3 separate regions of the Homo sapiens genome follow, and all the other regions are linked to region 3. The links are contacts of gene promoters, found by promoter capture Hi-C in human tissues and cell types (Jung and others, 2019). All regions are on one chromosome and are shown on one strand. The core of a region is centred on a gene start or on the middle of the fragment in contact, and the rest is flanking DNA. Distances in the headings are between cores, read along the strand shown.

The links. Contacts are between HindIII fragments. The study calls those that stand out against the background at their distance.
Region 1: a fragment that was not itself captured here is called in contact with the fragment with the promoter of CA4 in region 3 in 2 of the 25 tissues and cell types used here (bladder and mesenchymal stem cells).
Region 2: a fragment that was not itself captured here is called in contact with the fragment with the promoter of CA4 in region 3 in 2 of the 25 tissues and cell types used here (dorsolateral prefrontal cortex and stomach).

What each region holds. Positions count from the first base shown.
Region 1 is chr17:60,329,932-60,333,191 of GRCh38, reverse strand. All of the region lies in intron 2 of USP32 (ubiquitin specific peptidase 32), which reads left to right. Among named protein-coding and RNA genes, the nearest start is that of USP32, 61 kb to the left of the region's middle. The HindIII fragment of the contact is 3,504 bases long and covers 235-3,260 here.
Region 2 is chr17:60,363,189-60,366,636 of GRCh38, reverse strand. The region is part of intron 1 of USP32 (ubiquitin specific peptidase 32); the gene reads left to right. Among named protein-coding and RNA genes, the nearest start is that of USP32, 27 kb to the left of the region's middle. The HindIII fragment of the contact is 8,897 bases long and covers 1-3,448 here.
Region 3 is chr17:60,148,452-60,151,721 of GRCh38, reverse strand. CA4 (carbonic anhydrase 4) reads right to left here and starts at 1,749. Exons shown (of 8, transcript NM_000717.5): 1 at 1,630-1,749. The coding sequence starts at 1,687. The HindIII fragment of the contact is 35,208 bases long and covers 1-3,270 here.

The sequences.
Region 1 (3,260 bases), core at 737-3,236, 180 kb before region 3:
TAGTAAAGCTTTTCTGGAGTCCAAAGTTATACTCAGATTTTCAACCTTGCGGGGAGTTGTGCCCCAGCTTCTGTGTTGTTCAAGGGTCAACTGTAATTGAAGTCTTTAATTTGTTTTTATTTTTCCTTAAAGATTATGATACCAGTAATTTTTTTTCATTGAGTAGTCTTTCTTTGACATTCTCTCTTTCAAAATAGAAATATCTTGAAAATGTAAGTTCTGTGTACTATACATAGAGTAAGATGTTTTCACAATGAGGATTTTCTTTTTACTTCTTTGTAAAATTTTATTAGATGATTCAGTGATAAAAAGGAAGCTCTATTGGTATATGCAACAACATGAATGAATCTCAGAAGCATTATGCTGAATAAATTAAGCCAGGAAAAAATAGCATGCATGTTTAAGATTACATTCATATAAAATTCCAGGAAATGCAAACTAATCTATTGTGAAAGGAAGCTTGCCTGGAGACTGGGTGCCGATATTGGTGCAGGAGAAAAGGGAAAGCATAGGTTATATAGGGGCAGAGTAAACTTTTTTTTTAAGACAGAGTTTCTCTCTTGTTGCCCAGGCTGGAGTGCAATGGCATGATCTTGGCTCACTGCAGTCTCCGCCTCCTGGGTTCAAGCGATTCTCCTGCTTCAGCTTCCCGAGTAGCTGGGATCACAGGCGCCCACCACCACGCCCAGCTAATTTTTTTATTTTTAGTAGAGTCGTGGTTTCACTATGTTGGCCAGGCTGGTCTCAAACTCCTGACCTCAGGTGATCCACCCGCCTCAGCCTCCCAAAGTGCTGGGATTACAGGCTTGAGCCACCGCGTCCGGCCCAGAGTAAACTTTTGAGGCGATAGAAATGTTTGGTTTTTGTTTTCTTCATTGTGTTTAGTGATTGGTATATATGCATGACAAAACCGATTGACTGTACACTTTTTTCTTTCTTGAGACAGCATCTCGCTCTGTCACCCAGGCTGGAGTGGCGTGATCTCTGCTCACCTCAACCTCCACCTCCCAGGTTCAAGCGAGTCTCGTGCCTCAGCCTCCCGAGTATCTGGGACTACAGGCATGCACCACCATGCCCAGCTAATTTTTTGTATTTTATTTTATTTTTGTTTTGTAGAGATGGGGTTTCGCTATGTTGCCAAAACTGATCTTGAACTCCTGAGCTCAAGCAATCCTCCCACCTTGGCCTCCCAAAGTGCTAGGTTTACAGGTGTGAGCCACTGTGCCTGACCTCAATTGTATACTTTAAATGTGTGCAGATTTTTTAATATTAAAGTTTATTTTATTTTTTTTTGAGATGGGGTCTTACTCTGGTGGCCAGGCTGGAGTACAGTGGCATGATCACAGCTCACTGCAGCGTTGACCTCCCCAAGCTCAAGTGATCCTCCAGCCTCAGCCTCCTGAGAAGCTGGGACTACAAGTGCATGCCACTATGCCTGGCTAACTTGTATTTTTTTGTTTTGCTGTGTTCCCCAGGCTGGTCTTGAACTCCTGGACTCAAGCAATCCTCCCACCTTGGCCTCCCAAAGTGCTAGGTTTACAGGTGTGAGCCACTGTGCCTGACCTCAATTGTATACTTTAAATGTGTGCAGATTTTTTAATATTAAAGTTTATTTTATTTTTTTTTGAGATGGGGTCTTACTCTGGTGGCCAGGCTGGAGTACAGTGGCATGATCACAGCTCACTGCAGCATTGACCTCCCCAGGCTCAAGTGATCCTCCAGCCTCAGCCTCCTGAGAAGCTGGGACTACAAGTGCATGCCACTATGCCTGGCTAACTTGTATTTTTTTGTAGAGATAGGGTTTTGCCATGTTCCCCAGGCTGGTCTTGAACTCCTGGACTCAAGCAGTCCGCCTGCCTTGGCCTCCCAAAGTGCTGGGATTACAGGTGTGAGTCACCACACCCAGTCTAAGTATATGCAGTTTTATTGTACTTCAGTTGTTTCACAAAAGTTGGTAAAATGTTAAATTAAATATACTTTTTGGGTTTTTCAGGAAGAATACTTAACACTATTTAGGAAAGTGAGCCTGGAATATAAAAGTTGACTATTGGACAGAACTATCATTTCCTTTTCTATCTTTGTTAGGGCATTTGTATTTTGGTTGAACTTTATTATTTACTTAATGATCTTTTCCTAGTCACTTAAGTTCTGAGACAAAAGAACTTCCAAAACTTTGATCAGAATTGTAGGAATTTAGGTATATGACTAGCTTGAGTGAAATTGGAAAAGTTACAAGTACAGTTAACTTGTGATGTTCTACCATTGACTTGGAAACTTGCCTGGAATGGAGGGGAGAAGGGTGAGGGCTGGGTTAGGCTGGGAAAGTTGGGATAGTGAAAAGAAGAAATGCCCAGTGATAAATTTGGAACTCTGTCTTTTCCTTATGATATGAAGTTATATTTGGGTTTAACTAAGCTTTTAGAAAATCTCCAGCCTGGCCAACACAGCGAGACCCCATCTCTACAAAAAATACAAATATTAGCCAGGTGTGATGATATGTGTCTGTAGTCCCAGCTACTCGGGAGGCTGAGGCTGGAGGATTGATTAAGCCTGGGAGGTTGAGGCTACAGTGAACCATGATTGCACCACTGCACTCCGACCTGGGTGACAGAGTGAGAACCTGTCTTTAAAAAAAAGAGAGAGAGAGAGAAAGAGAGAAAGGAGGGAGGGGGGGAGAGAGAGAGAGAAAGAGAGAAAGAAAAAGGAAAGGAAAAGAAAAGAAAGAAGGAAGGAAGGAAGAAAAGAAAAGAAAGAAATCTAAGTTAAAGCAAGGAGACTCCAGAATGAGATTACTGAGAATAGAAGATCCAGGATAATTCACTTCCATGAAAAATATGGATAATAAAGTAGAATAAGGACAGACAGGAGGAGCCACTTGTGAGGACAAGGAGGCCAATTTTAAGATCATGGATGAAAAGCGTAGAACAGCAAAGAAAAAAGCTACTCAGGAAGTCTCAATAGGCAAAATTCAGAGCTACTAATTTTAAAGAGAGCAATTTTGACTTGAAACCTAGTAATTGAACCAGAAGCTTTAATAGGCATTTTTGGGCACCAGCGGACCTGAGGAGGATTCAGTTTCTTCCTTGGGTTAGGAATAGATCAGCTATTGAGTAGGGACAAATATTGCTTTAAAGGAAGCTAGTGAGTGGAAAGGGAGTTACAACCCAGAACTTCAAAGAAATTATTTAATTATTTTAAACCAGTGTGAAGCTAATTGCAAGGGCATACGAATAACTTACCTCATTGATCTCTAGTAATAC
Region 2 (3,448 bases), core at 296-2,795, 220 kb before region 3:
GGGCCACAGCACCTGGCTTATTTTAGTTCTAAATGTCATAGTCCAAGAACTATTACCATTAAAAAATGGCGGGCTGGGTGCAGTGGCTCACACCTGTAACCCTAGCACTTTGGTAGGCTGAGGTGGGTGGATCACCTGAGGTTGGAAGTTCGAGACCAGCCTGACCAACATGGAGAAACCCCGTCTCTACTGTGGCTCATGCCTGTAATCCCAGCACTTTGGGAGGCCGAGGCAGGTAGATCACGAGGTCAGGAGTTCAAGACCAGCCTGGCCAACATAGTGAAACCCCGTCTCTACTGAAAATACAAAAATTAGCTGGGCCTGGTGGCATGTGTCTGTAATCCCAGCTACTTGGGAGGCTGAGGCAGGAGAATCGCTTGAACTCCTGAGGCAGAGGTTTCAGTGAGCCGAGATCGCGCCACTGCACTCCAGCCTAGGCGACAGAGCAAGACTCCGTCTCAAAAAAAAGAAAAAAGAAAAAAGAAAAAAAACTTAGCCCGGCGTGGTGTCACATGCCTGTAATCCCAGCTACTGGAGAGGCTGAGTCAGGTGAATCTCTTGAACCTGGGAGGCAGAGGTTGCGGTGAGCCGAGATCGCGCCATTGCACTCCAGCCTGGGCAACAAGAGCGAAACTCCGTCTCAAAAAACAACAACAACAACAAGAAAAAGGGAGCGAGACCCTCTCTCTAAACCAAAAATGAACCGAAAAACCCCACATAGCCCTCCAAATGGATTAATTTCTCATGTCAGTTTGGAGTTGACACTTTGCAGAAGTTTGTATTCAAGGCCAAACTCTTTGGTAGATTTATTCTGGTTTTTCTCTTATATATTTGTTCTGGGCATTATTTTTGGTATTTTAATAAAATTACATACAAAATTTTATTTATAAAAATGGTTTATCTTAATGCATTCTTTTAATAATTACTTTGTTTCTGACAACTTCGTAACTATTACCATGAAGTCACAATATAGACTAATGAAAAAAGTAATAAAAGTTTTGTACTTAAGGAGGACAAGAGTTCCTTGGGGAAATACTGAGTGAATGCTTACAGGGAAGATAATTCTTTAGTTACAGATTAATTCCTTGAAAGTTAAATTCAACTTTAAAACATGGTCATTTATATTTTATTTATTTATTTATTTATTTATTTTTTGAGATGGAGTCTCGCTCTGTCACCCAGGCTGGATTGCAAGTGGCCTGATCTTGGCTCACTGCAACCTTCACCTTCTGTGTTCAAGCGATTATCCTACCTCAGCCTCCTGAGTAGCTGGGATTACAGGCACGTGCCACCATGCCTGGCTAATTTTTATATTTTTTCATTAGAGACAAGGTTTCACCACGTTGGCCAGGCTGGTCTCTAACTCCTAACCTCATGATCCACCCGCCTCGGCCTCCCAAAGTACTGGGATTACAGGTATGAGCCACCGCACCCGGCTAAAACATGGTCATTTTTAAAGAAATAAGCTTATTTATGAAATCAGATTAACTGAATAGAGCTTAGTTGATAATGAAGACTGGAAAACAATGAACATTTTCTTCATTTAAAAAAAACTTTCCCTTTTTGAAATAACATGATTTCTTAACTAAAAGGCATAAGGAATTTACTTTCAACTTGAGTATTATGGGTTTAGATAGTACTAGTAGTAATGTATAACATCTGACCTTTTTGTAATCATTTGATGAAGATGTAAATCCATGTTGTTATTTGTGGCTTTCTTTACAAATATAAAATTTGGGTCTAAAATATAAGGTTTGACTTGTATATAGAAGATGAATCTCATTAGAGGATTAGGTTTTTGTTTCTTCACAAACATTAGTGAACAATGGAATTTATGGATAAATTATGGATAAATTATGTTGGCCTTTATTATGTTGTAAAAGACTGCTAATAAAAGTGAAATAGAATGGACATAGTAAATGATTGTAAATTCATGAATGTTAAATATGATTGGCTTGGGCTGCTGAGTGTGGTGGCTCTCGCCCATAATCCCGGCACTTTGGGAGGCAAGGCAGGCAGATCACTTGAGGCCAGGAGTTTGAGACCAGTCTGGCCAACATGGTGAAACCCTGTCTCTACTAAAAATAGAAAAATTAGCCAGGCATGGTGGCGCGCACCTATCTGAGCTACTTGGGAGGCTGAGGCACGAAAGTTACTTGAACTTGGGAGGCAAAGGTTGCGGTGAGTGGACATCGCGCCACCGCACTCTAGCCTGGGTGATGGAGTGAGCTTCTGTCTGAAACAAACAGACAACCCCTCAAAAACCAAATAAATATGATTGGCTTAGCAGGTGCTGTGATCTGAGTGTTTGTTCCCTTATACCACCAAATTCATATGTTGAAACCTAATTCCCAATGTGATTGTATGAAGAAGTGGGGCCTTCAGGAATGATTACTTCATGAGGGCTCTGCCCTCATGAATGGGATTAGTGCCCTTCTAAAAGAGGCCTGAGAGAACTTGCTTTGCCCCACCATGTCAGGACACAGAAGGTACCATTTATGAGGAAAAGGCTCTCACCAGACACTGAATCTGCTGGTACTTTGATCTTGGACTTCTCAGGTTCCAGAGCTGTGAGCAGTAAATTTCCCTGGTTTATAAATTATCTAATCTGAGATATTTTGTTGTAGCAGCCTGAACAGATTAAGCATGTTTTGGGGGAATAATAGTGCACGAGAATCATCACTGATTACTTTAGGGAAGCTGAAAACTTGTAACCTTGTCTGTAAGGTGCCCCCCCAACACTTCCTTCTTTCTCCCTCCCTTCCTCCTTCCTTCTCCCAAAAACAAAGGAACCAACACAGAGTTGATAAATTACAAGAATTTTATGAAATTATACCTATTCAGGCACAGTGGCTCACGTGTATAATCTCAGCATTTTGGGAGGCTGAGGTGGGAGGATTGCTTGAGCCCAGGTGTTTGAGACTAGCCTGGGCAACGTAGGGAGACTCCATCTCCACCAAAAAACCCTGAAAAAAACAAAAAATTAGCTGGGCATGGTGGCATGGACCTATGGTCCCAGCTACTAAGGAGGGTGAGAGTGGGAAGTCAAGCCTACAGTGCACTACTGTACTCCAGCCTTGGCGACAGAGTGAGACCCTGTCTCAAATTTTTTTTTTTTTGAGACAGAGTCTTGCTCTGTCACCCAGGCTGGAGTGCAGTGGCGCTTTTTTTTTTTTTTTTTTGAGACAGAGTCTCGCTCTGTCACCCAGGCCGAAGTGCAGTGGCGCAATCTTGGTTCACTGCAACCTCCACCTCCCGGGTTCAAGCAATTCTCCTGCCTCAGCCTCCTGAGTAGTTGGGACTACAGGTGCACGCCGCTACGCCCAGCTAATTTTTTGTATTTTAGTAGAGACGGGGTTTCATCGTGTTGCCTAGGCTGGTTGCGAACTCCTGAGCTCAGGCAATCTGCCCGCCTCAGCCTCCCAAAGTGCTGGGATTACAGGTGTGA
Region 3 (3,270 bases), core at 500-2,999:
AGCTGAGACACATTCCTGACACTGGCCCCAGGCTTGGGGGAGAGCCCCATAAACTTGGTATATGACACACCAGCCACGTGCCACACAGGCACCGCACTAATCACTTAAACCCATTATCTTATTCAAACGCTTAAAACCCCTGAAGTCAGAATGACAACACCTGTTTTGCAAATGGGACAGGAAGTGACTTACCCAAGACCACACAGCTACAAAGCACCAGAACTGCAAAGCATTTCTCTTTCTACTTTCTAGCTGCTTAGTAGGTTTCCAATGTCCAACCCTACAAATAAAAGTTTCCACATTCTGCTTTTTCTCTTTCTTCTCCCAGGGGCCCGGTGGAGAGGCTGCAAGGTGCCCCTCGACCCTCTAAGACAGCTCAGCCAGTCCCTGCTGCAAAGGGCACACGCTGGCTCCTCTCTGTGCAGAGGACACCTTCACCCCTCACTCCGCCGCTTTGAGGATGGAGCACCTAACTTGGGAGAGGAGGTTTCAGCCTGCGTGGACCCCAAGAACCATCCGAGGGGTGGTTGGGCTGAGAACTGGCAGAGGGGGTCTTCCGGTGATGGGGTCTGGGGTTGCAAAGAAGGTGCCTCCAGGATCGGATCCCTGTGCCCAGCCGCTTGAAGCGCCTTTAGCTTCTTATCAAATATTAACATGCCTTTCCTGCCACCTCCCACCTAGAGGAATAATTAAGAGCTCGGCTTCACCATTAATCTTTAAACGAAAATCACCCTGTCCGGAAAGACCGGCTCCGCAGAGGCCTTGGGGCTCCGGGTCCCCCACCCCCCGCCCCCGCCAGGCTCCCAATTCAGCGCTGGAGGTTAGGGAGGCCAGGGGAGCTTGCGACCCTCAGGGGCAAGGAACCCGTGTGGGAAGCGCGGCTTCCAGGACCCTGCCAGACCGCCCTTGCTCTGGCCGCGGGGCAGTCACCCAGCGCTGAGTCCCAGCGGGACGGACGGAAACCCACGGGCAGACGGAGGAGGCTGGGTGAGAAAAGAAGGCGTGCGTTGAGGCGGGTCCGAGAAGCATCCTTTTTTTTTTTTTTTTTTTTTTTTTTTTTTTTTTTTAAACGGAGCACCAGGCTGGAGTGCAGTGGCGTGATCTCACTGCAACCTCCACCTCCTGGGTTCAAGCGATTCTCGGGCCTCAGCCTCCCGAGTAGCTGGGATTACAGGCGTGTGCCACCACGTCCGGCTAATGTTTGTATTTTTGGTAGAGATGGGATTTCACCATGTTGGCCATGCTGGTCTCGAACTCCTGGGCTCAGGTGATCCACCCGCCTCTGCCTCCCAACGTGCTGGCATTTCAGGCTGGAGCACCCGCGCCCGGCCTGAGACGCATCCTTATCAGGGACTCCCAACTCGTCTCGCCGGGCCACGCGCACACACCCTCACCGCGCACACCCGTGCACACGCTCCCCCAGCCGGTGCTGACACGCGTGTGCACACACAAGCTCGCGCGCTGCCCAGTCCTCCCGCACCCTCGCGGCCCCCGGCGCACACGCAACCCGGGACCCCAGCGCCACCGACGCTCACCGGTCGCCCGCGGGGGGATCCTCTGCAGGGGCGGGAGCTGGGGGCACGGAGGGGACCGCCGAGGGGCACCTGGGGCCGGAGCCCGGGAGCTCACCTGCACTGGCCGATGGCCGCGCCGCGGAGAGGGCCAGGAGCGCCAGCAGCATCCGCATCTTGCGGGACAGCAAAGAGTCCTCTGAGCCGGGGGTCGCGCACCGAGGAGGCCGCCGCGGGTGCAGCGATCCTGCCGGCCTGGGTTTTATAGCGGAGCCGCGACGGGAGGGAGCCCCGACAGCTGGACGCGGGAGGCGGCTCCTCCCCCTGGCGGGGCCTGCCCTCCCCTCTCCACCTTCCCCTGTCCCTCATCTGAAATCCTCCGCTCTCCCCGGTCCCCCGCCCTGCCTGGCCACCTCTTGCCCTGTGCGCAAGGCCCCCTCACCCACTCCGCGTCCTCTCCACTCAGCAGCGGCGCCCTGCCCCTCCCCCATCCTACTCCTGGTCCCTGGTTTGGGAACAGGGACACGACACCACAAAGTGCTTGACCCACACAAAGATGAGTGCCCCATGATGACTTTGATCATTCTGGCGCCACCCCTGCGCAGTGGTCTTGAATGGGACCTTGGAATGGCCTTGGGGTGGGGGTGGGGGTGGGGGTGGAGATGGCCTCGAAGAGATGAGAGGCTGAGGGGCGTGTGATGCCGTTTGTTGAATCAGTGGCCGCAGAAAGGCTCTCCTATCTCTCTTTGGCAGTGGCCATTGATTCTCTGGGTCTCATCTCTTCTATTTCCTCCCAGGCTGCTCCAAACTTAATTTCTAAGCAGACCAAAGACCTTTCTTCGAATACAGAGCAAAGCTGTCCCTAAACTACTGCCCTTGCTGGTGTTTATGTGATGACCAGGGAGGGTTGATGGGGCAGAATTAAGAAATGGATTGTAAGAGGATTCGGTGAGGGAGAAGCTGATGGGGTCAAAGGGGAGGAGCTAGGTTCTTTGAGCCCCCCAGGTGGAGAGATGAGATGGGAAGAGAAGAGACTGGGGTCTGAATGGACCCCTGGTTCTCCCATCTGGCAAGACCTCCAGAGGAGTCCAGGGGAAGTTCCCTTAAGGGCGGCTCCAACATTTGGGGAAATGGGGTCCCCCCCATGCCCCCAAGCTGCCTCTTGTCTCCTCTCTTAGCTGTGCCCTCCTGCTACTGCAGGTCCTCTGTGTCCCACATGGGGTGGGGGCTTCTGTGGGAGTTTGGGAAGCTCAGGCTGGGGTGCGGGAGAGGGACGGGGAACCAGGCAGTGGACCTGGACCTCCTCCATCAATCCATCAACAGGAAGCCCCCTTTTTCTGGTTTAGCCACTCCCCATCCGCTGCCAACCTCTCAGTCCCTACCGACCTTCGAACCTGGGCTAGGGACTTCTGAAGGGGGATTGCCTCCCCCAGAAGGATTCAGGCAAAGATGCTTCCTCCTTGCTTAGGGTTGAGGCTGACTCCCCGCTCCTGGCCCAGGATCACACAGCCTCACAGAGCAGCTTTGATCCTACAGAGAGGCAGGAGGGAGGTGAGGGGGTGTCCATGCCAGGCTTAGGGCTCTATTGTCAACACCACTGTATAATGTAATCACCAGCCTGCGACCATGACAGCCACAGGAGGGATTCCACACCCAGAGCCTATTCTGGGGAGTGCATTTGTGTTCACAGGGCTATAAAAATGTCCCTTTCAGGACTGAGGAAGCCTGTTCCTGGGAATAAAAACCACCCCCAGGGAGT